Regions from separate parts of the Homo sapiens genome. Here regions 2, 3, 4, 5 and 6 are each linked to region 1. Evidence: promoter capture Hi-C in 16 types of primary human blood cells and fetal thymus (Javierre and others, 2016). All regions are on one chromosome and are shown on one strand. Each heading gives the region's core, a stretch centred on a gene start or on the middle of the fragment in contact. The rest is flanking DNA. Distances are from core to core; before and after follow the strand shown.

Evidence for each region. Contacts are between HindIII fragments. The CHiCAGO score rates a contact against its expected background, and 5 or more counts as called.
Region 2: the fragment with the promoter of CD52 here is called in contact with the fragment with the promoter of ZDHHC18 in region 1 in 13 of 17 cell types (erythroblasts, activated CD4 T cells, total B cells and 10 more); the score reaches 13.5 in erythroblasts.
Region 3: a contact is called between a fragment that was not itself captured here and the fragment with the promoter of ZDHHC18 in region 1, in 5 of 17 cell types (monocytes, erythroblasts, M2 macrophages and 2 more). The highest score is 8.8, in monocytes.
Region 4: the fragment with the promoter of CRYBG2 here is called in contact with the fragment with the promoter of ZDHHC18 in region 1 in 4 of 17 cell types (fetal thymus, activated CD4 T cells, neutrophils and 1 more); the score reaches 7.1 in fetal thymus.
Region 5: a contact is called between the fragment with the promoter of WDTC1 here and the fragment with the promoter of ZDHHC18 in region 1, in 11 of 17 cell types (monocytes, non-activated CD4 T cells, neutrophils and 8 more). The highest score is 14.4, in monocytes.
Region 6: a contact is called between the fragment with the promoter of DHDDS here and the fragment with the promoter of ZDHHC18 in region 1, in 6 of 17 cell types (total CD4 T cells, total B cells, fetal thymus and 3 more). The highest score is 7.0, in total CD4 T cells.

Annotation. Positions count from the first base shown.
Region 1 is chr1:26,824,581-26,829,532 of GRCh38, reverse strand. It overlaps ZDHHC18 (zDHHC palmitoyltransferase 18), which reads right to left and starts at 2,845. Exons shown (of 8, transcript NM_032283.3): 1 at 2,394-2,845. The coding sequence starts at 2,728. RefSeq lists silencers at 2,578-2,787, 2,798-2,947, 2,911-3,063. The HindIII fragment of the contact is 7,154 bases long and covers 1,072-4,952 here.
Region 2 is chr1:26,315,599-26,320,550 of GRCh38, reverse strand. CD52 (CD52 molecule) reads right to left here and starts at 2,593. Exons shown (of 2, transcript NM_001803.3): 1 at 2,480-2,593; 2 at 28-380. The coding sequence starts at 2,533. The coding sequence ends at 249. It also overlaps a transcript of UBXN11 not described here. RefSeq lists enhancers at 1,587-1,686, 828-1,813, 2,187-2,336, 2,467-2,536 and a silencer at 2,611-2,803. The HindIII fragment of the contact is 1,957 bases long and covers 1,159-3,115 here.
Region 3 is chr1:27,306,323-27,311,274 of GRCh38, reverse strand. WDTC1 (WD and tetratricopeptide repeats 1) reads right to left here. Exons shown (of 16, transcript NM_001276252.2): 16 at 2,639-4,952. The coding sequence ends at 4,892. Among named protein-coding and RNA genes, the nearest start is that of TMEM222, 13 kb to the left of the region's middle. RefSeq lists enhancers at 2,443-2,967, 2,968-3,493, 3,494-4,019. The HindIII fragment of the contact is 2,559 bases long and covers 1,015-3,573 here.
Region 4 is chr1:26,351,123-26,356,074 of GRCh38, reverse strand. CRYBG2 (crystallin beta-gamma domain containing 2) reads left to right here and starts at 1,945. Exons shown (of 20, transcript NM_001039775.4): 1 at 1,945-2,039. RefSeq lists a silencer at 4,446-4,644. The HindIII fragment of the contact is 7,544 bases long and covers 1-4,702 here.
Region 5 is chr1:27,231,822-27,236,773 of GRCh38, reverse strand. WDTC1 (WD and tetratricopeptide repeats 1) reads right to left here and starts at 2,142. Exons shown (of 16, transcript NM_001276252.2): 1 at 1,823-2,142. It overlaps WDTC1-DT (WDTC1 divergent transcript), which reads left to right and starts at 2,345. Exons shown (of 3, transcript XR_947117.2): 1 at 2,345-2,512; 2 at 3,172-3,329. RefSeq lists silencers at 1,463-1,512, 1,673-1,722, 1,913-2,062, 2,263-2,322. The HindIII fragment of the contact is 2,806 bases long and covers 878-3,683 here.
Region 6 is chr1:26,429,956-26,434,907 of GRCh38, reverse strand. It overlaps DHDDS (dehydrodolichyl diphosphate synthase subunit), which reads right to left and starts at 2,587. Exons shown (of 9, transcript NM_205861.3): 1 at 2,532-2,587; 2 at 1,900-2,017. The coding sequence starts at 1,962. It overlaps LOC124903883 (a long non-coding RNA gene), which reads left to right and starts at 2,671. Exons shown (of 2, transcript XR_007065557.1): 1 at 2,671-2,935; 2 at 3,790-4,153. RefSeq lists enhancers at 2,268-2,757, 2,295-2,831, 2,858-2,917, 2,988-3,047, 2,832-3,368 and 1 more. The HindIII fragment of the contact is 8,751 bases long and covers 1-4,952 here.

The DNA.
Region 1 (4,952 bases), core at 1,596-4,095:
GTTTGCTATGCTGTGCGGATGGACAGGGGAGGCCTAATGTGAGAGAGTGAGCCATGAGGCCACCTGCAGGAAGGGGATTCCAAGCACTGGCCCAGAGGTAGGAGTGTGCACGGAGGATGACATGCCTGGAGGGAAGACGGGGACAGAAGACAGCAGGGGACAGAGGCCAGGGAGGATTCAGGCCTGAGTTAGAATCAAAAGGGCACTCTGGCTGTTGTGTGGGGGCGAGAAGTAAGGCAGAAGTTGGGAGCCCTGCTGGAGGCCTGTGCAACAATCCACCAAGCCAAACAAAGAAGCAAAGCCATTCATAGCAGGAAAGGCTTAGAGAGCACCTTACCTTTTCCCAGAGCAATGGGGAGCATCCAGTCCAGACCCAGGTGAGCTCTCGGCCCAAACCCAAACTCTTCTGCCAATCTACCAGCCCCCAATGAGGACAAGCGGGGACAAACTGCAACATGGTTCACGAGCTCTCCCCAAACCCAGAAGTCCTTGCTTTCTCCCTCGCTGGGGACAAAACAGTCACCAGTGAAGATACCCGGTCAACCCAGAGAAGGTCCTGCTTCTAGTTCAGAAGTTAGGCCAGATATCACACTGCAGGGTCATGTGGGTCAACCACGGCAAGTACTGCTTCCTCCTGCCTCGGCTGCAGCCCTGGGTGTGGGGACTGAGAGGGCAGCCCAGGGGATACTAGAAAAGGCATTTCCAAAACACTCATGTGGCCAGCCCAGGGAAGTGGATCTGAAACTCAGCCCAGAGCTGAGCTCTGGGCCCCCCAGAGCTTCTGCTTGTAAATCATCCCTGAACTTTTTATCCACCCTACTCAAAAAAAAGGGCAGAGTGTGTGGTTAAAGGGTAAAGGGAGAAGCTAATTTATAGGAAGTCTTCACCTTGCTTCAAGGGGAAACCCAAAGTTGCAGATACATGATCTGGCAGCTAGAAAGGGTACCTGGGGGCGGGTGTCTCTATGATAGCCTTACCATGGCCACATGCCCTTGGGAAGTGTTTTTTGATAAAGACAACACAAGTACTAATAGCAGCCAACATAGTGTGCTTGTTACTGGGCTAAAAGCTTGCATGTGTGACCTCATGCCACCCTCAGGACAACCTTACGGGGTGGGTACTATTATAAATCCCATTTTACTGATGAGGAAACTGGGGCACTGAGGGGGTGAAGTGACTGCCCTGAGGTCACGCAATTAGTGGGTGGTGGAGCTGGGATTTGAACCAGGTCTGTTAGAGTTCTTAACTACACTGTATAATTAAGAGGAACAACCACAAAGGATGGGGAGTTGGGAGGGGACAGCAGGGCTTATGAAGCAAGGGTGGGTGGGTGGGCGTGTGAGTGTGTGTGCAAGGAATCACAGTGCAGGTGGCTCAGAGGTGGGTGGAAAACTTCTAATACAAATATATGACCCTCCATCCATAAAATGGAGATTATGTGTGGGCCAATCCTGGGTCACCGGGGGATATGAAGAGGACAAAAACCTAGGGGGGCAAATATGACCTGTCACACGAAAGCACTCCGAAGTCTTTCCTGAAAAACAACAAGGCACCGCAGCTGTTGCTGATGTGGAACAGGCCAGAGGGACGTTCCAGAATGTTGAGCAGGGAAAGAAAGCCAGGTGGTCAGCAGGGGGGCCAGGGGCCTGGGAGCCGGCTGGGTGGAGGCGGGCGGGATCTGAGGGAAGGACAGGAAGCTCTGGAGAACCTAAGGAAGGTTCTGGAGAAGGAAAGGGGGCCCGAGAGGCCCAAAGATTTTGAGAAAAGATGCCTTGGGGCCTAGGGTGTGCGTGGCTGAGGGGAAGCAAAAGCGGGGTTGGTGTCTGAGACTAGAGAAAAGGAGGGGACCCTGGAGGGACCCGGAGAGGGCAGCGAGGATGACTAGGATGTTTATGGTGGGTGTGCACAGCCAAAGGACACACAAGATCTAGAAGTGGTCAGGAAGGGATACAAGGGTCAGAAAGAACTTGGGGGGTTGGCAAGAGATGGTCCAGGGATGGGTGAGCAGGAGGGGCCTGTTCAAGAAGCCCTGGGGCAGGTTCTGAGAGGGCAGCGAGGATGGGGGCCGTGGAGGGGCATGGAGGCTGGTGTTCCTGGCAGTGGCAGGCAGACAGGTGCCAGGGTGGGGTCAGGGAGAATGGAGGGGCTGGGAGGGTGGAGGGCACCAGCGCGGATGGGGTACCCAAATGGACCAAGGAGGATGGGGCATCTGGCGGGGATGGGGGTGCGCAGGGGCCAGGGGGGCAGACAAGAGGCCCGAGGAGGATCCCAAAGGGGCGGGGAGGATGAGGACCAGGGAGGCGAAGGGGAAGGCACGGAGTGCCCAGCAGGGATTGGGAAGGTGGGGTGCGCGGCAGGGGGCTGGGAGGGGGCGCCGAGGCAGCGGAACTCACTCAAAGACGAAGAAGAGGCCGGTGGTGGTGAGGATGAGCAGCAGCGTGAGCGCGAAGACGCCGCCGTGGCCGGCCAGCATGAGGCGGCCGCCGCAGTAGAAGCGATTGCGACCCGGGAACACCTCCCACTTGCGCCGTGGGCGGCGGCCGAGGCTCCCGCTCCCGCTGCCGCTGCCGCTGCCGCTGCTGCTCCAGCGCGGCGGGGCGGGGGCGGCGGGCGGCGCGGGCCCGGGGCCCGGAGTCGGGGACGCGGCGGGGCCGGGACGGCGCGCCCCCGGGGAGGCGGGCAGCGGGGCGGCCCCGGGGCTGATCTGCTGGTACTCGCAGTCCTTCATGCAGCCAGCCGCGGGCCTCGGCTCCGCGCCCCGCGGGCCGGCCGGGCCACTCCGGGACCGGGCCGAGCAGCGGAGGTGGCAGCGGCGGCGCGCGCGGCGCTCGCTCGCTCACTCACTGGGGCGGCCCCGCCATCGCTCCGCCCCCGGCCCGCCGCCACCGCCCGCCGCGGCCTCCCGCCGCAGCGCCCCCTCCGCCTGGGCCCGGGATGGCGCTTGGCCGGAGGCCCAGCTCTGACCCGCGGCGGGGCCCCGCAGGTCCCCGGCCCTCCCAGTCTCCCTTTTCCCTTCTGCACAAAGAGGGGGCCAGCAGACGCGCACTCGAGGGCTCTTTCTGTTCTGCAAGCAAGCCGTTTGTTGGGCGTCCACTGTGTACCAGGCACGGTGCCAAACGCCGAGATTCAGGTGGTGGACTTCGTGATCTACTTCTGGCAGTCTGTAATTCCCCAGGCTTCGCCCATCTCTGAGGGTCGAACTGACAGGCATTTGCAGAGGCAGGCAGGCGCGGGGAGGTGGGGCACACGATTTGCTTTGAAAGCCAGGACCTCTTCTACCTTGAAGTCCAGAGTGCCCACTGGAGGTGTGTGGCACACCCTCTGGCCTCGTTCACCAAGTTCTGTGTCCTGGGCCCAGGCCCAGATTTTCCTAGGTAGCACATAATGTAGAGGGGTCATGCCTGAGGGCCCCAGTGTTTTTTCAGGAATTCTGGGAGTATTCATTTTCTACTGCTGTGTAACAAGTTACCACAAATTTAAGGCTTAAAACAAACATTATCGGCCGGGCGCGGTGTCTCACGCCTGTAATCCCAGCACTTTGGGAGGCCGAGGTGGGTGGATCACAAGGTCGAGAGAGACCATCCTGGCCAATATGGTGAAACCCCGTCTCTACTAAAAATAAAAAATTAGCTGGGCATGGTGGCACGGCATCTATAGTCCCAGCTACTCGGGAGGCTGAGGCAGGAGAATTGCTTGAACCCAGGAGGTGGAGGTTGCAGTGAGCCGAGATTGTGCCATTGCACCCGGCCTGGTGACAGAGCAAGACTCCGTCTCAAAAAAAACAAAAAACAAACGTTATCTAACAGGTTCCAGGTCAGGAGCCAGAGAACAGCTTAGCTGGGTCCTCTGCTTAGTCTCACAAGGCTGCAATCAGGCTGCATTCTCATCTGGAGACTCAGCCAGGGAAGAATCCACTTGCAAGCCCATTTGGGTTATTGGCAGAATTAACTTCCTTGCGACTGTTTAACTGAAGAGGGCCTGGGATTTTTGCTGGGTGACTGTATAACTGAGGAGGGCCTGGGATTTTTGCTGGGTGTCTGCTGGAGGCCTCTCTCAGGATCCAAAAGCCACCTGCAGTTCCTAGAGATTATCACATTTCCTTGCCATGCAGGTTTCTCCTACATAGCCACTTAGTTTCTTGAAACTGACAATGAGGGTCTCTAGCTCCAGACTATGATGATAGAGTTTTATATAACTTACTATATATGTGACAGAGTGGCATCCCATCATCATTGCCATCTCCTATGGTTAAAAGCAAAGCACAGGAGCCATCTGCACTCAAGAAAAGGGAATCACACAAGGCGTAAATACCAGGAGGCAGGAATCATTGGGGGTCAGCTTAGGGTATGTCTGTCACACTGTGGTTACTGTAAAACCTAAGGAAAAGTGCAAGGAAAAAAAGAACTGGAGACTAGGAGAAAGTAAAAAAGGAAGTAAAAATATACAATGGGGAGGAGTAGGAAGCCGACAACAGTGACCTTAAGGATCAATAATTGATATATATGCCAAAGGCTGCTCAGCCGTGCCTTTGGTGCCAAAGGCTCTCAATATGATGAGCCCCATCTTGAGCAAACCACATGGTGAGCTTCCTCCCTTTTTGCTCCTTGGCTGTGGAACAAAGTCACAAAACTAGACATACTGGTTCCAGTACAGATTCCTGTTGTCCCACCTTAACTGGGTCCTCTTGCAACCTGAAACCTTTTCTTTTTTCTCGTCACTTTACAGAAACCAAAGCAATCCTACTGGATTTTCAGTTTACCTCCTCTCTATCTCATAATTTCTCTTTATTTGCATCTGTCCTTTCTTCTTTTTTAGAAGATGTGGGCCTCCTTCTGTCCATGGCCAACCCTCCACTCATATCCTTATTTTATTTTATTTTTTATTTTTTTGAGATGGAGTTTCGCTCTTGTCACCCAGGCTGGAGTGCAATGGCATGACCTCGGCTCACTGCA
Region 2 (4,952 bases), core at 1,344-3,843, 510 kb after region 1:
GTCCAGTAACCACAAGCAGGACCCCACTGCAAGTACAAGGGTAACTTTATTGACCCCCAGCTGGGCACTGCTTGGCCCCTACATCATTACCCCCCTATTTTGGCTGTTGCCCCCATGGCACTGCCTGTCAACTTCTACAACCTGGTGATGTCTGGCATCAACCCCTCCCAAAGATGGAGGGGATTCTCTTGCGAGTGATGGTGGCAGCTGTTTCAGGGGGCACAGGGCTAAGGCTGAGACGTGTCACCTCAACTGAAGCAGAAGAGGTGGATTATGGCATTGGCCACGAAGAAAAGGAAAATGCCTCCGCTTATGTTGCTGGATGCTGAGGGGCTGCTGGTTTGGCTGGTGTCGTTTTGTCCTGAGAGTCCAGTTTGTATCTGTAGGAGGAGAAGTGGGATAAGATCAGGGGACTTTTTTTTTTTTTTTTAGAGGTGGAGTCTCACTCTGTCACCCAGGCTGGACTGCAGTGATGCGATCTCGGCTCACTGCATCCTCCACCTCCCGGGTTCAAGTGATTCTCCTGCCTCAGCCTCCTGAGTAGCTGGGACTATAGGCACGTGCCACCACGCCCGGCTAATTTTTCTATTTTTAGTAGAGACGGGGTTTCACCATGTTGGTCAGGCTGGTCTCGAACTCCTGACCTGGTGATCCACCCGCCTCGGCCTCCCAAAGTACTGGGATTACAGGTGTGAGCCATCGTACCCAGCCCTCAGGGGACTTTTGAATAGCGTGTTTGTTATTTAAAGATGCAGTCCCCTTTCTACCCTCCCCGCCCTCCATCCGCCCACCTCCATAAAACAGTCCTCAGTTCTGCCCCATGTGACCACTACTTCTTCCACAAGGTCCTGTCAGGATGTTTGACTGCTTCCTGCTTTGACACAGGCAGGGACAGAGGTGATCACTGCCCCTGTCCACCCCCTTTCACAGAAACTTTCTGTTTTTTTGAGATAGAGTTTCGCTCTTTTGCCCAGGCTGGAGTGAAGTGGCATGATCTCGGGTCACTGCAACCTCCACCCCTCAACCTCCCGAGTAGCTGGGATTATAGGCAGCCGCTATCACGCCCAGCTAATTTTTTTTTTTTTTCCGAGACAGAGTCTTGCTCTGTCGCCCGCCCAGGCTGGAGTGCAGTGGCGTGATCTCGGCTCACTGCAAGCTTCACCCCCAGGTTCACGCCATTCTCCTGCCTCAGCCTCCCGAGTAGCTGGGACTACAGGCGCCCGCCACCACGCCACGCCCGGCTAATTTCTTTTTGTATTTATGGTAGAGACGAGGTTTCAATGTGTTAGCCAGGATGGTCTCGATCTCCTGACCTCATGATCCACCCGCCTCAGCCTCCCAAAGTGCTGGGATTACAGACGCGAGCCAGCGCGCCCGGCTCGCCCAGCTAATTTTTGTATTTTTAGTAGAGACGGGATTTTGTCATGTTGGCCAGGCTGGTCTTGAACTCCTGACCTCAGGTGATCCGCCTGCCTCGGCCTCCCAAAGTGCTGGGATTATAGGCGTGAGCCACCGTGCCCGGTCACAGAACCTTTCTTTTCACCTTTCCCCAGCGACCAGCCCTTCTGGCATAGAGGGAGACAGGGGAGCCCTGGCCCTTGACCTTCCTAGCCTGGCAAAGGGCTTAGCTTCCCTGAGCCTCAGTTTCATCTTCTGAGTGGGGAGAAGTTCATCACAGTTGTGAAGGTCACATGAGCCAGGGCTGAGTGAGAAAGCACTTGGCAAAGCGTGGGTGGCTGGATGTGGGGTGGGGAAGTGGCCAGATGGTGATCGAGCTGTCCTTAATGCTTGATGGAGCTGCAACTAGAACTGTTCTTGATGGAGATTAAGCTGGTTTTGATGGTGATCAAGCTGTTCTTGATCAAGAACTTGATGGCTCCGGTCTGCTGTACTGACTCCCCTCTGGGCACCTGGGATGCTACCAAAGCTGCCTCCTGGAATAGCAGTCGCTTTTGAGACTCCAGTTGTTTCTGAAATGGGAGAGTCCTGTCTTCTTTGCATTCCTGAACATCCAGGCTTCTCTCTGGCAGGGGAGTGGGGGTTAGAGTGTCCCCTGTCACCTCCATAACCACAGCAGGCTCCACTTGGACATCTCCTGGCCTCTCCCCAAAGGACCATCTCCCCAGACTCCCTGTGGGCCGATGCCTTCCTCACTCAGGGTTGTCTTCCCAAGTCTCTTAGTTCTCTATTATTCCACAACACCCCTTGGGTGCCCCAACGCGCCTAGCACCCTGTAAGTGCTCCCCAGCTGTGGATACAGGTTTCTCTCAGGGCAGCCCGCAAGCAGTGCAGCCCCAGCCAGAAGAGCTGGAAGGCTGGGCGGCCAGGCCCGCTGTGTCCCCAGTTTTCCTGTTGGAGTCCATCTGCTGTGCTCTCAGGAGAGAAGGCTGGGTCTCTGGGAGCTCACATCCTGTATGCCCTCCCTCCATGCCAAGCAACTTTGGGGAGTCCTGGCAGTGGTGCCAGGCGTTGCTCTTACCTGTACCATAACCAGGAGGCTGATGGTGAGTAGGAGGAAGAGGAAGCGCTTCATTTTGGTAGGATCTTCGTGGCTGTCTTGGTAGCAGCTTTTTAGGTGATCTCAGGGCTGTCTGGAGGCTTCTTTTGGTTTAGCTGCTTTTGAACCAGGAGGCAGAGGAGGCGGGGTGAGGTAGGGAGAGGAAGGAGGGCTTACAAGGTGGAGGAGGGGTGTGGCTTCCTTTCTGCAGATCTGGGGGTGGATAATACCAGGCTCTAGGTTCTAAGGCCCTGGCTGGGGGAGCAGGCTAGATCGTACAAGATAGGAGAGAGGTCAATCCAGAGGCAACGGTGGGAGTAAGTAGGGCCCAAGGCCTGGAATCATGCATCCTGCAGGCTGAATCCTGGTTTAATCACTGACCAGCTCTGAGACCCTGGGCCAGAAACTCTACCTCTCTGACCCTTTAACAAAAGAACTGCCGGATTACATGTAATAATAACCAATTTAAAAAGAGCCAGAACATAGCAGATATTCCGTAAATGAGTTTGTTGTTTAAAGAAGATTGGGGCAGGGTATAGGAGCTGAAGGAGAAGGGCTGGGATAGATTTATGTTTCAAGGGAAGGTTGTAGATGGGCTGCAGGTTCTGAATGAAAGCTTGGGAAATGTTTAGATTGTGGAAGGGTTGGTGGATTTCTGTGAAGGTGCTGGAGGTGAGGAATCGGGAAGCCTGGTTTCAGTTGGGCTTTCCCTCTCTAGGCCTCAGTTCCTCATTTCAAGGAACTGGGAAGACTGAAATAGATTATTTCTGAAGTTTGTTAAAACCTAGTGTTTTGTTTTGTTGTTGTTGGTTTTTTTGTTTTTTTTTTTAAACAGAGTTTTGCTCTGTGCACTGGCATGATCTCGGCTTACTGCAACCTCCACCTCCTGGGTTCAAGCAATTATCCTGCCTTGGCCTCCCGCATAGCTGGGACTACAGGTGTGTGCCACCATGCCTGGCTAATTTTTTGTATTTTTTTTTTTTTTTTAGCGGAGACTGGGTTTCACCATGTTGGCTAGGCTAGTCTCGAATGCCTGATCTCAAGTGATCCGCCTGCCTCGGCCTCCCAAAGTGCTGGGATTACAGGCATGAGCCACCGCGCCCAGCCAAGACCTAGAATTTTGTGATTTTGGTAGAGAAAGTAGCAAGCAGATGGGTTGTTTGTATTAGCTGAGGATGAATGGGAGGGGAGCGAGGGAAGGGACAAGTGGGTGACTAAGCTACAGTGGAAGGGGACTGGGGTGAGAGAGTGGCTGTGAGGGCCCAGGGAGGGGTGGGGGGATGAGAGGAATCCCACAGCTGCCTGGATAGTGCTCCATGCTTTATGCATTCCCTCACTTGATACCCTCTGTGGTGCCCTGCAGCAGGTGTTATGTTTATCCCCATTTGACTGGTGAAAAAACTGAGGCTTAGATGTTAAGTGACTTGCTAAGGTCGTAAATGGTGGAGCCAGTCTCATTTGACCTTGAATCCAGGTCTGTCTGAAGCCACAGCCATGTATGTAACCTCTGGGGCTGCCCTAGAATTCATCCATTAAGTCTTGATTCCCTGCCACTCCCTCCCCCTCCCCTACACAAACTCCCCCCAGGCCCCAGGAGTTGGTCACCACAACCCCAGCTCTGGCCCACTCTCCCTTCACACTCTCCCTTCCTTAGTCTACTTTAGGCCTCATTTACATGCTAGGTAGTAAAGGGAAAACTCCCCTCACTTCTCTTCTATTGTTTTGGGCCTTGTGTTGCAAGCCCAGGGGAGATCTGGCTGAGGCTGAGTCCAAAGAAAAAAACAGAGGCTGGGCATAGGGGCTACGCCTGTAATCCTAGCAGTTTGGGAGGCTGAGGCGGGCAGATAACTTGAGCACAGGAGTTTGAGACCACCCGGGCAACATAGGAAGGCCCCATCTCTCAAAAAAAAAAAAAAAAAAAAAAAAAATTAGCCGGGCATAGTGGCACAAACCTATAGTCTCAGCTACTTGGGGGCTGACGCAGGAGGATTGCTTGCACCTGGGAGGCCCAGGCTGCAATGAGCCATGATTGTGGCACTGCACTCCAGCCAGGGTGACAGAGCAAGACCCTGTCTCAAAAAAAAAAAAAAAAAGGCCAGGAAACAGTGGCTCACGCCTGTAATCCCAGCATTTTGGGAGGCCGAGGTGGGTGGATCACCTGAGGTCAGGAGTTCTAGACCAGCCTGGCCAACATGGTGAAACCCTGTCTCTACTGAAAATACAGAAATTAGCCAGGTGTGCTGGCACATGCCTGTAATCCCAGCTACTCGGGAGGCTGAGGCAGGAGAATCACTTGAACCCGGGAGAAGGAGGTTGCAGTGAGCCGAGATCGTGCCATTGCACTCCAGCCTGAGCGACAAGAGAAAAACTCCATTTCAAAAAAAGAGAAGAGAAGAAAAGAAGAACTGAGAGTCAAAGCTGATGAGAGAAAGCCAGGAAGTGGAGAGGGAGGGGC
Region 3 (4,952 bases), core at 1,045-3,544, 480 kb before region 1:
GTCTTGACTCCTTCCTTGGGCTTTTCATCAGCCACACGAGTGCTGGAGTCTCCTCAGCTGCTACTTCACCAATGAGGCACCAGGTCTGCACAGAATGAATGAGCACACAAACGGCACCAGGAGAGGCAGAAGGAGGTGGAACAGTGGAACTATTCTGGGTCTGCTACATTTTCATGTAAACTTTAGGATCAGTTGGTGATACTCACAAAATAACTTGCTGGGACTATGACCAGGATCACATTGAAGCTATAGATCAAGTTGGAAAGAACTGACATCCTAATATTGAGTTTTCCTATCCGTGAACATGGACCATCTCTCCATTTACTTGATCTTCCTTGGTTTCTTTTATCAGTTTTGTAGTTTTGCTCATACAAACCTTGTACATATGTTGTTAGATTTATTCCTAAGTACTTTTTTGGGGGGATGCTAATGAGGGCTGAATACGTGGAGGACAAGGTGCTTTTAGAACAGTGAAACTATTCTGTATGACAATGTAATGGTGGATACGAGACATGCATTTGTCAAAACCCATAGAACTTTGCAACACAAAGAGTGAACCGTAATGTAAACTATGGACTTCAGTTATCATAATGTATCAATATTGGTTCATTAATTACAACAACACACTAATGCAAGATGTTAATAATTGGGAAAATTGAGCTGGGGAAAGAGGGTTATATGAAACTCATTATACTATCTGCTCAATTTTCTGTAAGCCTAAAACTGCTCTAGAAAGTAAAGGCTATTAATTTTTTAAAAAATGGAGTACCAACTCCAAATGAAATGGAGACCCTCGTGAAGTCTTCCAATGCCTCCCTTGCCTACAGGATTGAGTCTGTGGTCTCTCACCAGCCATAGGAAGTCCTTCAGTTTGACTGCTCCTCCAGTCTACCCTCTACAATCCAGCCAGATGGAGTCACTCAGGGTTCATGAAGGAACCTGAGACTCTGCACTACTCCCTGGTCTGGAACATTGTCCTTCCTTTGTCTGGTCTGGAAATGCCTTCAAGAAGCTTCTGCAGACGTTAATTTGGGTACACAGAGGAATGATACCAGCCCACAGTATCTGTTTTATAATACCACCTATTGTGTTTCCGGCAGGACCTCTCAGTAGTTTCAGTAGTGGAACTGCTATTCCCACAGACTAAACCATAGTTCCCCAACTGTGCATCAAGGTGCCTGAGGGCACCCACAGCAAATTCACAGGGGGCAAAGTAGGATATTTTGAAAGATATTCAACATCTTTGGCTAATGAGAGAACTATTAGCTCAAGGTAGTTCACAGTTCCATTATTACATTATGCCACAATCCTTTTGATGATGTCATCTTTAAGAAGCTGGGTCTTGGCCGGGCGCAGTGGCTCATGCCTGTAATCCCAGCACTTTGGGAGGCCGAGGCGGGTGGACCACAAGGTCAGGAGAGCGAGACCATCTTGGCTAACGTGGTGAAACCCCATCTCTACTAAAAACATAAAAAATAAGCCAGGTCTGGTGGCAGCTGCCTGTAGTCCCAGCTACTCAGGAGGCTGAGGCAGGAGAATGGCATGAACTCAGAAGGTGGAGCTTGCGGTGAGCCGAAATCGCACCACTGCACTCCAGCCTGGGCAACAGAGCAAGACTCCGCCTCAAAAAAAAAAAAAAAAAAAAAAAAGAAGCTGGGTCTTTAGTGGTTGCTGTGATAAAAAGCAAATGAAAATCAATGTGGGACAGGAAATGAAGGCAGCAGTGTTTGCTTTGATTAGAAAATTTAACAAGTTGTTCAGTGCCCAATGGGCAGCATAGATCCCATTAGTAATTGCAGTTGTTTAAGAATGAAGGCTGGGCGCGGTGGCTCACACCTGTAATCCCAGCACTTTGGGAGGTTGAGGCGGGCAGATCACCTGAGGTCAGGAGTTTGAGACCAGCCTGGCCAAGGTGGTGAAACCCCATCTCTGCTAAAAATACAAAAAATTAGCTGGGTGTGGTGGCGGGCACCTGTAATCCCAGCTACTTGGGAGGCTGAGGCAGGAGAATCGCTTGAACCCAGGAGGCGGAGGTTGCAGTGAGCCGCAATTGCACAATTGCACTCCAGCCTGGGCGACAAAAACGAAACTGTCTCAAAAAAAAAATAAAAAATAAAAAATAAATAAAAATGCAAAAAAAAAAAAATAGCTGGGCATGGTGGCACATGCCTGTAATCCCAGCTACTTGGGAGGCTGAGGTAGGAGAATCACTTGAACCCGGGAGGCGGTGGTTGCAGTGAGCTGAGATCATGCCACTGCACTCCAGCCTGGGCAACAGAGCAAGACTCCGTCTCAAAAAAAAAAAAAAAAAAAAAGAATGAAATAAATATTGTTTCTTCCAATTCAGGTGTATTATTTTTTAAATGGCAACTAACTTGTTAGGACATAAATACTTTTTAAGTGATTTGGACTTAACTACTTAATAAATTGAACTGTTATTTCTTTTGGCTTAGAGGCTCCATGAAAAAATTACTGAGATGGTAATGGTGCTGTGAGCTAAGAAAGTTCAGGAACCTATAGTCTAAGAGATTATCTAATCCAGGGCACTTCAAAAACTTGCATATGTGAAATCAATTTAGTGGGTTATAGCCATATTTTTTTCCCTAATAAAACAGAAGGGTAAGCAGAGTACACTGCATGTAGCAAGGGTAAATATTATTGTGTAAAACTTTTGTTCATTTTTTTTATATATATATACACACACACATATCTACAAGTAATCATGTGTATATTGGGTCACAATGTAAAATGGTTTGAAAAACCACTAAGATTCCAAGTCCCTTATTTTACTGATGAGAAAACAGCCAGAGAGTGAAAGCTGATGATTACAAATCACAGCCATGAGAGCTGGGCTCTGCACTCAGCCCTGCTGGGCTGGGTGGCCGCTGCTCACGGTGACCCTTCAAGGCAGGCCTCATTCTGTCCAGTAGAGGTGTGGTTACTAAGTCATAGAGCTACAGAGGTGAGGGACCAGGTGCCCTCACTTTGGTTCCAAGACCCATCTGCACCCCACAAATGCCACCAGCCACACCTAGAACAAAATGGTTTTAATCAATTGCGTCACCCTCACTCTCCTGGGAGCGGAGCAACAAAAAGGCTCGGCTCCTGCCCCCAGAGGACAGTAAGGCTTATGTGTCTCTCCACACTGCAGGGCCCAGGCTGGGCAGGCAGGGGGTGGGAAGCAGGACAGGGGGCAGGGAGGGAGGGTGGGAGGCAGGGAGGAAATGGCAGGTGGCTGGAACACAAGAAAGCAAAGGGGACCCAGCTGGTCCTTGGGCCCCAGGGCCCAGCCCCAATACTCCTGCTCTCCCTTCTCCCTGGCTAGAGAAAGGTCACGGAGAAGAGACAGGGGAGCAGGTCCCAGCAGCAGGAGAAGCAGCAGCAGCTGTTTCCTTCACCAATAAATATACTTCATTACCAAGCTAGAAGAGAGGGGTGGGAAGAGGGACTGGGGTGGGAAGGAAGGGGGAGAAGCTGCCACCTGTGTTGCTGGGATTAAAGCAATGAGATGGTGCCAGACCCCCCACCACTATCCTCACCCTCCACTTGTCTTCTTAAAACTGTGAAAAAGCTTTTAACATGGCCCTCCTGTCTCCAGGGCTGCTCTGAAGCCTGACTGAGAGGAGGCACCTGGCAGAGACAGGGGCTGAGGGAGGGAGCGAGGGAGTGGAGGGAGAGGAGAAGGGAGGCTGCTTTTCCCCAGGGGCTGCAGCTGGAGGGCTGGAGCCAAGTAAGCACTGAAGGGGAAGCAGGGAGGGAGAGAGGGGGAAGGATGAACCAACTACCTGGAGCAGCTGGAGCTAAGAGCCGGGGGCAGAGGGGAGGAGAGGCCTGGTGAGTGGTGGGTTGATCGCTGCATCCAGTGTAAAGCTTGGGGCTGCTGGGGAGGGAGGGGCCGAGTAAGGGACTTTCCCATCTGAGTGGCTCAGGAGACCCACCCCTCTCCCCTCAGAGCAGCAGGGGACAGAGAAAAGCCATCACTTCTTTGGTCTTTGTGGCGGCTCAGCATGTGGGATGGGAAGGAGGGCAGAAAGGGCAGAGAAGGGCCCTTAGCAGGAAGCGCCACCTCAGCAGAGTAGGCCTGGCTGGGAGCTCTGGCAGAAAGGTCACAGTGAGGCTGAGGAGCGCCCAAGAGGAGAATGGCCGTAGTGCAGAAGTGCTGGCATGGATGGGTGGGGTAAGGTGCAGTGCCCCACCCTCTGCCAGGGCCCTTGGGAAAGGCAGAGCCTCCAGAGGTGGCCAGTGAGAGTAGGTGCAGGGCCAGAGCTAGTAGCCAGGAGAGGAGCGAGGGTGCTCCACAGCGACCTCAGCAGGTGGCCTGGTCTTGCCCACTCCAGGGCTCCCATCCTTCCTTTGGGCTCCGCTCTAACACTGGTGGCTCTGGAGGGAGGGTGGGACCCATCCTTTTTCAAAACCTTTCCTGAAGACCACAGGGGAGCTAGCCTTGCAGGCTAGGGAGCAAGAGTGGCAACAGGCCAAGGCGAGCCCTTACCAATTGGGAATCCCACTCCTCCTGCTGCTGCCAGCTAAAGGGCAGGACAGTCCCTGAAGACAGTTCAGCTTGTTCCTCCCCACCTGAGGCAGAAGGGGTTTTGAGGCAGGCCAGAGCCCTCCAGGGACATGAAAGCAGGAGATGGGGGGGGGCATATGGAGGGGTGTCCCCTCCTGCTCTTTTTTTCAGGGCTGGGGATAGTCAGGGGACAATCAGCCCAGAGTCCGAAAGCCAGCAAGTTGTAGCAACCTCCACCCCTAACGCCAAACTAACAAACAAAACAGGGGAAATGAAAAAAAAGGGTGGTGGGGAAGACAAACCAAAACAGAATCCCCTGACCTCCTGCCCAGGGCAGAGGGTCCAGCCAGTAGCAGGGGCTGGGGACCAGGGCTGGAGGGTCTAGCTGGGCCGGCACTGCACCTGGCCCTCAGAGCTGTCCTCATCATCAGAGGCCCCGGCA
Region 4 (4,952 bases), core at 696-3,195, 470 kb after region 1:
TCTTCCCCACTTCCTGGCATGGCCCCTCAGGGGTGAGGCTGGGCTAGTGGCTTAACCTCCTGCCCCAGTTTCCTCATCTGCAGTAAGGACCTGAGCCCTGAATTGAACAGTGAAAAAGTGTTCTTCCCTTGGAGGAGTGAGGGCAGCCTCCTCTGGAGGTGGCTCAAGCAGCCATGTGTCTCTCTTGGGTCTTGAATACCATGAGTAATTGCCAGTGTTTAATTGCCTACTTGTCATGTGTTGGGCCCTCTGCATGGACTATCTTGTACCATCTGTACCACACTCTCAGGAGGCAGGTACTGTTATTATCACACCCATTTTCCACATGAGGAAACTGAAATACAAACGGTACTGCAGCTATTATAGGAAGCAGCAGGGCGGAGATTCAAGCCCAGGTTGCCTCGATCCAAGCCTCCAGGTTCATCACTGTACTCTTGTCTCTTGAGGTGGTCAGCCCCTGGGGAATGAGAGGCTGCATCTGTTTCATAGATGAGTAAATTAAGGCATTTGGCAGCAAGGATCCCTGCTAGGCGGAATTTTGACCTCCTCTGTTGCCAAGGAAACAGCCCATCTTTTAAAACGGGTCGTTTTGGGGGCAGTGTCCATCTGGGTCTGGGGTGCTGAGCCCTCTCCTCTTATCCCCACAGCCAGGCTGGACCCCAGGGGAAGACAGCAGAAGAGGTCAGGTGTTGTCCCATTTCAGGGGAACCCTCTTCTCTGGCTCCCTTATATCCCAGGTACATCCTCCCAGGTGTTCTGTCTCAAGCTGGGAGGGTACAAGAGAGGTGGCCGCAGTCTCTCTGTTAGCTTGGAATGGGCAGAGGCCATGGGCACTTGAGGCAGGCCTTCCCACCCAGCCCTCAGCCCCAGGGCGGGGAAGCACCTCAGGACTGCAAGGAAGCTGAGATCTCCAGCCTTTGGGGGGCATGGCCGGCCAGGCCCTGGGTGCCTTGTCACCTGGGAGGGAGTGCGGCACCTGAGCGTTGGGAGCCCTCGCTGGCTTGCTGTGTGATCTCAGTCATGTCGCCGTCTTCTTTGGGCCCCACTTTCCTCTTACGTAGAATGGGAAGGGGTGAGTTAAATGCTGAAGGGCCTTCCCAGAGCTCTGTCCCTTTGTCCAGCTCTGGTGGCCTTAGCAGCCTCTCCCTAGGGCAGCTTACCTTGGTGTCAGAGCCCTGTTCAGCTTCCTTGTGACAGGGAAGATACCAGGTACCAGGGGTGCCTGGAGGGCAGGGGGAGCTGTCACTATGCCCCTGCCTCTCTCAGTGTCTATCTCTGTTTTCACCCAGGCCCAAGGCCAGAGCTGCTCAGAATGGGACATCCATGTAGGGGACCATGATGATTTCTGGATTTGGAAGCAACAAGGAATCTCGGGGGGTCCTGCTCAGTCCCTGGGGCGCCTACAGAGGCCAGCGGTGGGCAGCGCCTTCGACCTGGCCAGCCATGCCTCCCTGGGGCCTGAGAGCCTGGCCCTGGAAGTGGCCTCAGGAGAGTCTGCTCGTACCAGGCTCCCCCAATACCCAGGGCCTGCTCCTGGACATGGGGAGCAGGGATCCTCAGGCTGCACCTGTCAGCAGTCTCCACCCACAGCTTCAGAGGTCCCTCTGAGGCCTGAGCCACCCAGCAACCTGGAAGACGCACCCCTGCTGCTCCACCCTGCATCCTTCCCCAGGGCAGAGGGGACAAAGGGCAAGCCCGCCACCCCAGGGACTGCCTTGCCAGAGCCTGCCCAGACCCTACACACGCGTCCCTCTTCCAGGAGGACCCGCTACTACATCACTGTCACCCTGCTGGGGCACAGGCAAGCACCAGGGGAGGAGGGTGAAGAACCGGCCCAACCAGCTCCACACCTCTGCGGCCCTGAGGAATCTGAGGGCTGGTGGGAGCCTCCCCAGGGGCCACGCCCCATCACAGGGTGCCGGACGGCCCCGCCTCAGGAACCCCAGCTGAGAGCCCAATCGCATCAGGGGAGCACGGCCCAGCAGCAGGAGCTCCAGGCTGGCTGGACACCTGGGTCCCCACGCAGACTGTGAGTAGAGGTCGGTCTGTGTGTGGAGATGGGAGGGGAGACTGGCCTGGCTGCCCTGTCTTGAGACTTTGCCTATTCCCTGGGCCTCTCCAGCTCTAGGCCCATTCATTCAGGACCCTGAGCCGACTCTGCCTTCCCTCCCTGCTCCAACCCTGCCTTCCTCTCCCTCCCTTTGCCCACAGGCTACCTCCTGGAACCCACTGCTTCTCACCCCCACTGTCCATCTGAGAAAGGGGAAAGTCTGTCAGGGAGAGGATGGGCAGGAAGGGGGGTTGCCTTCTTCACAGCATACACCACTCCCCAGTTCTGTTCAGGAGGCCACAGACTCAGCCTGGGAATTGGCACCCAGCCTAGGTGCTGGGTGTCCTGAGGCGAGTTGCTTAACCTCTCTGGGCCTTGAGTTGTTGAGAGGATTTGGTAGCTGAAAATGAGGAAGGAGGAGGTGGCTACAGGAATATACTTTGAACTCCAGAGACTGGGGGTGCCAAAATAGCAGGGATGCTTATTAATTACGTCTCAGTGACAGCAATAATTACCCCACCTGGCTCTGAGCTGGAAGCCAAAGGAGTGGGTGTCGAGTTTCCCAAGCCTAGTTTTATTTGTGTTGAAATGACTCTCCTAAATCTGCCTGGGGGGCGCAGAGGTGGAAGGATATGTCCCCCAAAGCTCATCAAGGAGGGATGAACATGGAACCTCCCAGGGATGACCCTGAAGAGGAAATGAGCCTGGGGTGGGGTTTTGAAGGGTGCTTAAGGATGATGGGGTGGCTGTCATTTGCAATTTGTTTTCTAAGCATAATTTTATTTAATCTTCCCAACCATCCCATGAGTAGGGACTGATCCCAACCCCTGTCACCTAATTCTAGGAGGCTCTGAAAGTCACTTGCTCAAAGTCAACTAGAAAGTGAAGGGGCTAGAATCTGAACTTAGGTTTCTATAACTCCAGTGCCTGTGCTCTAACCACTGCTCCATCCTGCCTGGAAGAAACCTCTTTGGCCCTGTGCAGAGAGTGGAGGGTTGAGTGAGGTTGCTGTGTGGGCTCCAGGGTTTTCTAGGCTCCTATGGCGGTGGATTGGGCAGCATTGTAGTAGCAGAGGCAGAATCAGGAATGCTGGGGTCCTCCAAGCAGGGGTCAATGTGACTGCTTCCGTGCCAAGGAAGAGGGAGATGTAGGACCCAGGCTGGCTCTGAGACCTGCTTGGATGCCCCAGAAGTCAGGGGCTGGGGGACAAGGGCTGCAGAGAGAGGGAAGGGGGGTGGAGGAGGCTACCTTGGAGAGGGGGACGGGAAAGAGAAGTAGGGTTAGCTGGGGGGAGGTGGTTTCTATCTGCCACTACCTGGGTATTTTGGGCCCAGGTGGATAATGACAGACTCAGGTGGGAGGCTAGGGCTCACTTAGAGTGGGGGGCAGGTGACCTCCAGAAACATCATCCTTCTATGTCCCCTTCCTGGGAGAAGGTTCTCTGGGCCAAGATTGGCAAATATGGGAGTCGAGAAGAAGTGAGACATAGCTGGGACTGCCAGTGGGAATGTGTAAGATACGTGTGCATCCAAGCGTGTGTGTCCACGTTCAGGGGTAGGTGAATTTCAAGGGGAAGAGAGCTTGGGGCTGTGAATTGACTGTGTGTGTATTGTGAATGTGTGCACGTGTGTGTCACTGTGCCTGTGTTTCTGTCTGTATGTGATTTGTGTGTCTGTTGTGGCTCTGAGTGCCTGTGCGTGTTTGTATTTCTTGGGTGAGTGTATATTTGTGTGTGTGTCCCTGGTTGTGTATGTTTTTATAGGCTTCTAGGTGTATCTTTGTGCCTGTGTGATTGTGGGTCTGTGTCGGTATCTGTCTGTGTGTCTGTGCCTGCGTCTGTGTGACACAGCATGTGTTTGCCTGCATGTGGGCCTGTGGACTGGTTTGGCCTAGTTTGGGGGTGACTCACAGGTAAGTGGGGAGAATCCAGGACTTGTTGGGTTAGACAAGGCTCTTTCCCACACTCCCCCCGCCCCCTCCTCAGCCTCTCCCTTCCCAGCTCCACACGCCTTGTTTGGAGGTCACAGGTCACGCTGCCAACAAATCCACTTCTGGTCTGGGGCCCTGCAGAAGAAAGGGCTCTGGGAATGGCCCCTTCTGCTGGCCCAGGAGAGGCATCCTGGGTCATTGTATTGGGGTATGTCTTCAGAGCAAGGACAAAAGGGGGCATCTATAGGCAGGCACATTCCAGCAGAGTCTGAAGGACATTCTAGCACTCATGACTGTTCAGGGACGGGGCAGGTGAACTGTCGAGTGGTGACCTCCCTGTCCCTGGAGGTATGCAGGCAGAAGCCAATGACCACATGCTTGTGGAATGACTGGCTATCAGGGGTGTTGTCCAGGGGTTGGGCTGGTTGAGAAAGACGTTAAATTCTGATTGGTAGGAGGTCATCGACAATATCTGATCTCATGATCGGCCGCCTCCTTTAACATTGCTCTCCTGTCGCTTTCCTGATGCCTATGGCGCTTTCCAAATGTCCCTGTTTTTATGTCTAATTCCTTGGCCCCTGGCTTCTTAATATGCCACCTTTCATGAGAAAGTTGGCTCTGGTTCTGGTTGAGTCTAGCCAAGGCCTAGCACATCCCTTGATACAATTAGCACTGAATGAGTGAGTAATTGAATGAATGAATGAATGAGTTAGAGCTCAAGCTTTGCCACTTACTATAAGCACCATCAGAGACAAGGAAGCTCGGAGAGTGGAAGGCAGGTGGACAGGGGCTTAGGAGGTGCTCAGCGAGGGCGTCAAACTTCATTTGGGCAGAGTCCCAGCGAGGAGGGCAGGGGTTGCATGAGGAAAAAGGGAGCTCCCTAATGGGGACAGGGGAGTGGGCTGGGGCCTCAGTGAGAGGCTAAAATCCAGAGCCTTTGGTGTCTGGCTGTGTACTGCTCTCAGGAAGCCCT
Region 5 (4,952 bases), core at 893-3,392, 410 kb before region 1:
CTTAGCAGTTGGCCCAAGATCCACAAATGTTTGGCAGTGGGCTTCAAGATTTTCAGTTGTCTTTCCAGATCCTAAAGTCTAGGTGTGCAAAAACACCCTACATAAGATGCCCAATGAGTCAATACTGAACTCCTCCCGGCTAAAAAAAACTGTCAATTGTATGAAACTGGTAAATAGTTGTTAACATCATCATCATAATATTTACACGTGTTCTCTCTTTCCCTCGTGACCCTCAATGAAGGTGTCCCAGGCAGAAATATGGGCTACTGCTCAATTATTCGGCAGAGTTGATCCAAAAGCACTGTTCCTTCAAATTGAGATAAGACTCGAACAGAAGTGCTCCCATATAGGTCAAAAAAGGAAAGGAGAGCAGGACTCCAGCCTTAAAGCAGCATGATCACAAACTATGACGGAAAAGGTCATTTCCCACCTGCCAACGAAATACAACAACCTACAATGAAGAAACCTCAGTAAGTCTCAGACTTGGCCCAAAGGAGCCCAACTAGTTACTCCCTGGTCTGTTACAGAGGATCTGGCTATTACACTCAACAGCAAAAATTCAATTCAATCCCGCTAAAGATATAAGAATCACAAGGAAGAATAAGCCAGAACTCAAGACAGAAATAGCATTAAGTAGTTCCTTCAGTACAGTGAGCAGAAGCTGGCCACTCAACGACTCTAAAAGACACAGAAAAGCTTAGTAGGGACCACTGGGCATACCGGTGTCCTAGGTGGGGATTTCGTAACGTCTTTGAGTCAGAAGCTGCCCTCAAAATAGTTTCTTCTCAAAACGGTTTCAGGCTTTGTTAGAAAGGGAAGACTTCACTGCCACTTTACCCAGATCATCTACCCCATCCTTGGAATGAATGGGGAAGCTTCAGCCACCCTACCAGGCTCCTAAAATCACCAACTTGAGAGAAAAACTATAACGTTGCTCTACCAGTACTTCAGGAGGTTAAAGAAAGTCACAGAAGAAAAGAACTCTGGGGAAAACAGTCAAATTCGGCTATTAAGACATTAGTTACAGGCCCCTGTACCTCTCCTCTAGAAACCCTGGGAGTACACCCGCAGAGGAGAGAGAGCCCAAGCCACCAAGCAAAGTCAACCAATCTGGCAAAGGGGCGTCCCACTGCGGCTTTCAGTCCAAGAAGTGGATCCTGCTGGTTCGCAGTCTCTCTTCTATCTCCTCACTTCCTATTTACCCTTTGAAGTGGGTACTGAATAGCCCGTTCCCAAGCAGAGGCCCTTTGTATACGGGGTGCTACAGTCGCCTGGTGGAAACACCTTGGCAGAGTTGTTTGGTGCCAGGATGGGCCACTGAAGGCATCTGCTGTGGACACACACACACACACACACACACACACACACACACACACACAGAAAGAGAGAGAGAAAAACAGAAAGAGAGAGAGCGAGAAGCTAAGAGGGCAGGTCAGGTCGGCGTTGCCCTCCCAGCACTTACACCTGCCCCTTCTTCCTGACTCCGGCGCCAGATCAGATGTCAAACAAAAACTCCGCAAAAAAGTCCCATGATGGAATGACTTCCACCTCTCCCTCCGCAGAGCCTCCCCGGACTCCCACAGCCTCCCCCCGCGTCCCGACCAAACCCTCCGCCCCCACCCCGCCCCCGGACCACTCTGCCCTCCGCCCCGGCGAGGCCTGGCCCCTCTCGGGACACCCGGGGCCCCGAGGCGGGTAGGCTCAGGCCCCCAGGCCGGCAGGGCTGGAGCCGGCCCAGAGCGGGCGGCCCGTTCACCGGGGCTGCGGGAGCCGGTCCCCGCCTCGGCGCCCGCGGAGGGCAGGGGGCGGCGGTGACCCGTACCTGTCAGGTCTCTTCCCCCGACCGGCAGCGGCGCAACTTCAGGAGCCCATGTCCGTCCGGGGGGGGCGGCCCCTCTCCCGGGAAGGGGGGCGCGGATCCCGGGGAGGGGGCTGGGGGGCTCGAGCAGTTCTAGCCCCTTCCCATGCTCCCCGCCCGGCGCCTGGCCGGGGCCGGACAGCGCCTCCGCCCGCCCCTGCGCACCGCCTCACACCCGCGCTCACACACACTCACACTCCCTCGCGCGCTCTCACACACGCACTCCCCTCCCTCCTCCTCCTCTGTTTATCTCCTCCAGCTGTCTGGGGACCCAGGAGAAGCCCAGCAACGCGCCTGCGCCACGCAGTCTCCGCCTCCGCCCTGCGCCTCGCAGCCGGCGGGTACGCTACGAAGACTGCGCCCGGCCGCTTCCAGAATGGCTAGCCGGGCCCCCCCACTTACCCCCCCGCGCCCGGTCAACGTCTGCTGCCGGCGGCGCCCACTAACCTGCTAGTGGGGGAGCCCCGCACCGCCGTGGCCAATGGGCTTCGCCGCTTGCGGGACCGGCAGCCAGTGGGCGGGCGGGAAAGCTGGGCTAAGCCCTGGGGCACCCTGGGAGTCGTAGTTTTTCGCCGTCGAGGAGTTCCTGCAGAGCGGGCTCACCCCGCCCGGTTGCCATTAGTTACCCGGACGCACCTCCCACCCCACCACCGGGTAAAACGCTCCTCACACCGCTTCTGGGACACCCGCCCACACGCTCGCCCACTGAACCCCAGGTCCCCTCACAGCCCCTTAAGAGCTCCTAAGACTTCCTCTCAGCCCCCGAATTCTGGGACCTCTCAGGCTAGGGCCCCGGGGGGCTCCTCAGCCCACTCCTTCCTGCTCTGGGGGGCTGCTGAAGTGGCACAGTCCTCACTGACGTCTCCTGGGCCTTAAGGAAGAGAATGAAAGAGAATCGGGCCTACGCTGAGTAGCCTGGAGAGGAGTCAGCCACACACACTCTGGGTGCCCTCGGGGTGATGGGAGCGACTAGGTCCATCTGACCCTAGCGGAGTCACTGCTGCTCCCACCTCTGAGGAAGAGACGCAGTTCCAGCCTTGTGGAGTCCCGGGTCTGATGGAGGAGAGACCCTCCTCTTTATTAAGGAAGTTCCCAAGGTGACAAGGGTGGCACTAAGCCTATCTTCTTAAGGCAGAGACCAGGCCCCACCCGTGAAACCTCAAGTCAGAAAGGGAAGACGTGTCACCTTCTGACAAAGGAAACTTGTCACCCATAGGGTGCCATTTGTCAGATACTAACAATAATTCACTTTTATTCGCACTGGATTGGGTACAGTCTCTTAGCTAGGTACTATTGCTGTCTGTGTTTTGCAGAAAAGGAAAGCTGAAGCAGAAAGGCTAAAAGCAACTTGCCCCCGGGGTCCTGATAAGTTGGCAAATTGGGAATTAGACCCAGATCTGCCTGACACCAGAGTCTGAGCCTTTTAACACTGCCTGTCTTTCCTGTGAAAACCAGACAGCACCCGCTCTCAGTAAGGACTGAATATATGTATTTGGCATTTATAGTGTTTATCACTCCATGTGTCGCTTGTTTTTTTTTTTTTTTTTTTTTTTTTTTTCCAATTCTGCTCACATCATGAGTACGAATTTGTCTGTGAATACCTGAATACTCCCAGAGACAAAGGTAGTATTCTAATTGCTGGTGATTTCTCCGCAAGGGAGATTTCTCCCCATTTAGAGGAGTAAGAACCTATCCTTGTGAAACCGCTCACAAAGCCTTTTATGCCTTTCTCCTAAAAATATTGTGGGTCATTCCCCCTGAACTCTCCACCACAGCTGTTCTACTGAATATAAAAAATCATAGACTTTGGGACTAGAAGAAAGCTTTGAGATCATCTATCTGCAGCTCCCCAGGTTCAGGCTGCAACCTTGGTTAGGGTCATTGGGTTAATTAAACTGAATAATATCTAACATTTATTGAATACTTACCATGGGAGATAAGTGCTACTAGTGAATTAAGAAATACTCCCGGGCTGGGCGCGGTGGCTCACGCCTGTAATCCCAGCACTTTGGGAGGCAGAGGCGGGCGGATCACGAGATCAGGAGATAGAGACCACCTGGCTAACACGGTGAAACCCCATCTCTACTAAAAATACAAAAAAATTAGCCGGGCGTGATGGTGGGCGCCTGTAGAACCAGCTACTCGGGAGGCTGAGGCAGGAGAATGGCGTGAACCCGGGAGGCGCAGCTTGCAGTGAGCCGAGATCGCGTCACTGCACTCCAGCCTGGGCGACAGAGCGAGACTCCGTCTCAAAAAAAAAAAAAAAAAAAAAAGTAAAAGAAAAAGAAACACTCCCGGCCGGGCGCGGTGGCTCACGCCTGTAATACCAGCACTTTGGGAGGCCAAGGGCGGGTGGATCGCCTGAGGTCGGGAGTTCAAGACCAGCCTGGCCAGCATGGTGAAACCCCGTCTCTACTAAAAATACAAAAATTAGCCGGGCGTGGTGGCGCGTGCCTGTAATCCCAGCTACTCAGGAGGCTGAGGCAGGAGAATCACTTGAATCCTAGAGGCGAAGGTTGCAGTGAGCCGAGGTCGTGCCACTGCACTCCAGCCTGAGCAACAGAGAGAGACTCCATCTCAAAAAAAGAAAAAAGAAAAGAAAGAAAGACAGACTCCCACAATCACATAGCTAGGAAGTGGTACAGTTGGGATTAAAGCCTACACTATTCAAATCCAGAACCCTCATTTTTAAATCATTTTAGCATCCTGTGTTTTTGGCAGAGACCACCCCCCCCCCCACTTTTTTCTTCTTTTTTTGAGACAGAGTCTTGCTCTGTCGCCCAGGCTGGAGTGCAGTGGGGCAATCTCTGCTCACTGCAAGCTCTGCCTCCCGGGTTCACACCATTCTCCTGCCTAAGCCTCCCGAGTAGCTGGGACTACAGGCGCCCGCCACCAGTTTGTCATTTCATTTAGTACAGACGGGGTTTCACCGTACTAGCCAGGATAGTCTCGATCTCCTGACCTCGTGATCCACCCGCCTCTGCCTCCCAAAGTGCTGTCACTACAGACATGAGCCACCGCGCCCGGCCAGAGAACCCCCATTTTAAAGTCTTGTTTAATGCTGGCAAGGTCACAGAGGATCTTAGATATACTG
Region 6 (4,952 bases), core at 1,338-3,837, 390 kb after region 1:
GGGCAGATCACTTGAGGCCAGGAGTTCGAGACCAGCCTGGCCAACATGGTGAAACCCCAACTCTACTAAAAAAAAAAAAAAAAAAAATTAGCCAGGCATGGTGGCCGGTGCCTATAATCCCAGCTACTTGGGGAGGCTGAGGTGGGAGAATCGCTTGAACCCAGGAGACAGAGGTTGCAGTAAGCCAAGACTGCACCACTGCACTCTAGCCTGGGCAACAGAGTAAGACTGCATCTCAAAAAAGAAACCACAAAAAACAAAACCCTTATTTGGCTTGGAGCAGCTTTGAGTTGTCTCCCATAACACAAATGGACTCCTTAGCCTATTTTTCCTCACCTGGGAGGGCTCTTCCCTGACTGCTTCCTCATCAACACTTCTCCTTTTTCTACTTCTGTCTCACATACAGCCTTTCCAGCCCCCAAAATCCATTCAAGTTATGCAGCTTGTTCTTCCAAACATACCACTGCAGTGGTTCCCCAAGGAGATACTTCCCATTTCCTGGACTGCTTGAGATCACTTGGCATTTGTTTGTGAGCATGTGTGGGGCTTGTATAAAGGTTACTGACTCATAAATTCATTACTACCTGCTGCTTGACAGCCTGTGGTTGAAAAACAAAACCAAGCTGACTGGCCCCAATCTCAAACCTGTCTTAGGCAGATATAATATTGCTGTGATTCCTAGAGAAAAAGCTGAGGGAAGATTTGGGGAAGATAGGAGATAATAGTCTTCAAATGTCTGAAAGACAATCCTAATAATAATTAAGAACTGCTAGACATTATGCTAACTGCTTTATATTAATGTCTCATAAATTCTCATGATAATTCTACAGTTGTTAAAGTCACATGATTACTAAATGATAGAACTGGACTTTCAGGCCAGGTGCAGTGGCTCAGTCCTATAATCCCAGCACTTTGGGAGGCTGAGATAGGTGGATCACCTGAGGTCAGGAGTTCGAGACCAGCCTGGCCAATATGAGAATCCCATCTCTACTAAAAATATAAAAATTAGCCATGTGTGGTAGCATATGCCTGTAACCCCAGCTACTTGGGAGGCTAAGGCAAGAGAATTGCTTGAACTTGGCAGATGAAGGTTGCAGTAAGCCAAGATTGCGCCATTGCACTCCAGCCTGGGCGACAGAGCGAGACTCCATCTCAAAATAAAAAAAAGAACAGGAATTTCACCCATGTTTGTCTGCGTCTAGAGCCCAAACTCTTTTTTTTTTTTTTTTTTTGAGACAGAGTCTTGTTCTGAACTCTTTTTTTTGAGACAGTCCCGTTCTGTCACCCAGGCTGGAGTGTGGTGGCACAATCATGACTCACTGCAGCTTTGACCTGGGCTCAAGAAATTCTCCCACTTCAGCCTTCCGAGTAGCTGGGACTACAGGTGCACACCACCAAGCCCTGCTATTTTTTTAATTTTTTGGAGAATCGGGGTTTTGCCATGTTGCCCAGGCTGGTCTCAACTCCTGAGCTCAAACAATCTGCCCACCTCAGCCTCCCAAATTGCTGGGATTACAGGCGTGAGTGACCGGGCCCAGCTCTACTGACAGATCAAAGAATATATCAAAGATTAACCTATTTAAATCAAGAAGACAGTACATGGAACAATGGATCAATGTTCCAGGGAAACAAATTTCAGTTCTCTATAAAGAATACTTAGCAGTCTAGGCTGCCCAGTGACATTAAGAGGCCTGGGCTTCCAGAAAATATCAGAGTTAGGACAAAAGTCTACCAGAAATGTAGACCTGGAAGTTACCATTCTAAGACTCTTTGGTTTCCTTGCTAAATTCCACTTAACATCATGAATTGCACTTAACATCATCAACTTTAATAACAGGTTTTTATATAAGATTATCCAACTGACCAGAAGGCCAACCGGTGCTCTGGGCCATTGCTCACCTTTATGATGTTGGCACAGAACCGCTCCCAAAGTGACAGCTCTCCTTCCTTGATCCATGACATAGTTCTTTTCCAGTCAGAAGATCACTCCAGAACAAGCAAACACCAGCCAGGTAATCTTGGATAAACAAGAAAGAAAATAAGAAGTCACCAAGGTTTGCGAAGAGCTATAACTGACTTCTGGGGAATCAGATGGACTATGGAGAGCAGCCAGCATTAGAATCCAAAGACACTGGTCTAAGCCTATAATCTTTTACCACCCAGAGTTTTATAACGCAATGTGACCTCTGGAGGCAAAAGCCTTTCCTCGGTTCTCCTGGCTTTGCAGACTTCTTCCCATTCCCATTTCCTCCGTATCTGCACTGACTTCTTCTGAACATCTAAGTCGGTTTCCTGCCACATCATGGTGCCCACATCTTGATCATTCCCCGTTTCTTCCTTCTCCATCTTCCCCTAAGCTGTTTCCAACTCTGTGCTCCCAGTTACTAACTCCTTCAGTTATCGCACGCCTAGTACTTCACGCCTCAGTGGTCTCCTGATTATTCCCTCAGTCGTCCCTTTGCTTCTCCCGCAGCTGCTCCCCGCCCAGTCACCCTCTTCTCCTCTAGTTCACCCCTTCAGTTCAGTGGCACCTGATTAGCTCCGCTGGGCGCGTCCCCACGGCTTCAGTGGGCCGGCACTTCCTCATGACGTGGCGCTGGCAGAACACGTCATCTTTGGGCGCTGCGACACGCCCCTTCCGTCACCCAAACTGAGGGGACCCTGCCCTGCGCCTGCGCCTGCGAGCTAGTGGGAGGGCGGTTCTCAGTCCCGCGGGGTGTGGAAGCCGGCGCGGGTGAGAGCCAGGCTCACGTGACCGAGCGGGGCGGGAGGCTGGGCTCCAGGCCACGTGCTGGGAGACCAGCTGGGGAAGACAGGGTTGAGCCCAGCGTTGGGAGCGGAGGCGTCTGGAAAACGCGCCAGGGAAATGAGCCAGGGGCAAGAATCGAGGCGCTTCTCGGCCGTCGAAGGCAGCTTAGGACTGCTGAGAGACTGGGTAAGGCAGCGTCCTTACCTTGGAATGCCGCAGAACCGGGCTTCATTAGAGCACTGGTGCATACTCTTAAAAATTATCTCGTTACCGTTTCGTATTTTATTTAGTGGATTTAATCGTCTGGGAAGGAGTTTCTAGCCGCAGCCAATCTTACAGACGCGCAGAATATTAATCTATTTTGTGCCGACTTAAGGCACGCATATTTTAGGATTTGTGGATTCCCAAGACCTATCCCAACGAACTCAAGAGAAGGGGTAAGGCCAGAAAGATTTCTGCCATAAGAATGACTTCTAGGCCAGGCGCGGTGGCTCACGCCTGTAATCCCAGCACTTTGGGAGGCCGAGGCGAACGGATCACCTGAGGTCAGGAGTTTGAGACCAGCCTGACCAACATCGTGAAACCCCGTCTGTACTAAAAATACAGAAAATGAGCCGGGCGTGGTGGCGGGCGCCTGTTATCCCAGTTACTCGGGAGGGTGAGGCAAGAGAATCGCTTGAACCCGGGAGGCGGAGGTTGCGGTGAGCCAAGATCAGGCCACTGCACTCCAGCCTGGGCAACAGGAGCGAAACTCTGTCTGAAAAAAGAAAAAAAAAAAAAGCATGACTTCTAAAATAACAGAAAGGTGCTCGCTTTGGCAGTACATAAATGAAAATAACAGAAATTAACCCTGGTAGAAAAGTTAAGGGCATTAGCTCTACTGAACCTTTACGAAAAAAAGGGTTGCAAGAATTCTAGGCTCACAAAACAAATTTGTAGTTCAATTTTCTCAAAATTGAAAGAGGAGGAAAAAATTCTTTACAGATTCTTATACAACCAGTATTATTTTTATTTATTTATTTATTTATTTATTTATTTAGAGACGGAGTCTGGCTATGTCGCCCAGGCTGGAGTGCAGTGGCGCGATCTCGGCTCACTGCAGCCTCCGCCTCCCGGGTTCAAGCGTTTCTCCTGCTTCATCCTCCTGAGTAGCTGGGACTACAGGCGCGTGCCACCAAGCCTGGCTAATTTTTGTATTTTTAGTAGAGACAGGGTTTCACCATTTTGGCCAGGATGGTTTTGATCTCTTGACCTCGTTATCTGCCTGCCTAGACCTTCCAAAGTGCTGGAATTACAGGCGTGAGCCACCGCGCCCGGCCACAACCAGTATTTCTTGCAAAGCATAATACAACTTTATGTAGTATTATGTTTTGAGTGGAATAAAAATTCACAATTGTCAAAGAACCTTTTTGTCGCATTTCATTTTACAATATTATTAAAGAAATGAGGCAAGGAAGAGATGTTTTATTGGCACTTTCTAATTGATTATGTCTTCCACTCTTTCTAATGAAAGGGGTTATTTTAACACAGCAACATGATGAAAGAAAGCCCTAGAGATGAGTAGAAATGAATAGTGTTGAGCTTTTCCATCCTTCCTGCTTTGCAGCCTGGGGAGTAAATTTCAGTCCAAGTTACTTCATTTTGCAGCAAGACAATTTAATGAAGTCCACTAGTAGTTTGCTGCTTCATGAGGTTCTACTGTCAGCTTTGACTTTTGGTACAATTAAGGAGCCACAAAGTCCCTGGAGTAGATTATGAAACTTCTTACCCTTACTCTTATAATGTCAGGCTTGAGGATTTAAACCAGTTTCCCTGTTTCCTTGCACGGTGTTAATATACTTGGTTTGCCTCCAATCAAGTTTTTTTTTTTTCCTTTTTAAAATCCTCCTTCCCTTAGTGGGAATAGATGTTTAAAATTCAGTGTTCTTGCTTGATGACTTGTGATGTATATAAAAAAACTCGATGTTCATTAAAAAGCTAGCAAACTTTGGCTCAAAGAAAATGTTGCATTTATAGCTAGTCAGTGAATCTCCTCTGGCCTCAATTTCCCCAGTTCCACAACACATTTCTCTCCTTGGGGTGCTGCAAGCGGTTAATTAATTAAGATTTGTAAAAGGCTTTGAGGAGTAGGGGACAAAGTATTATTAGGGTCTCATGCCCCAAGCCATGGCCCCATCCTTTCATCCCAGCCAGTGGCACAGGC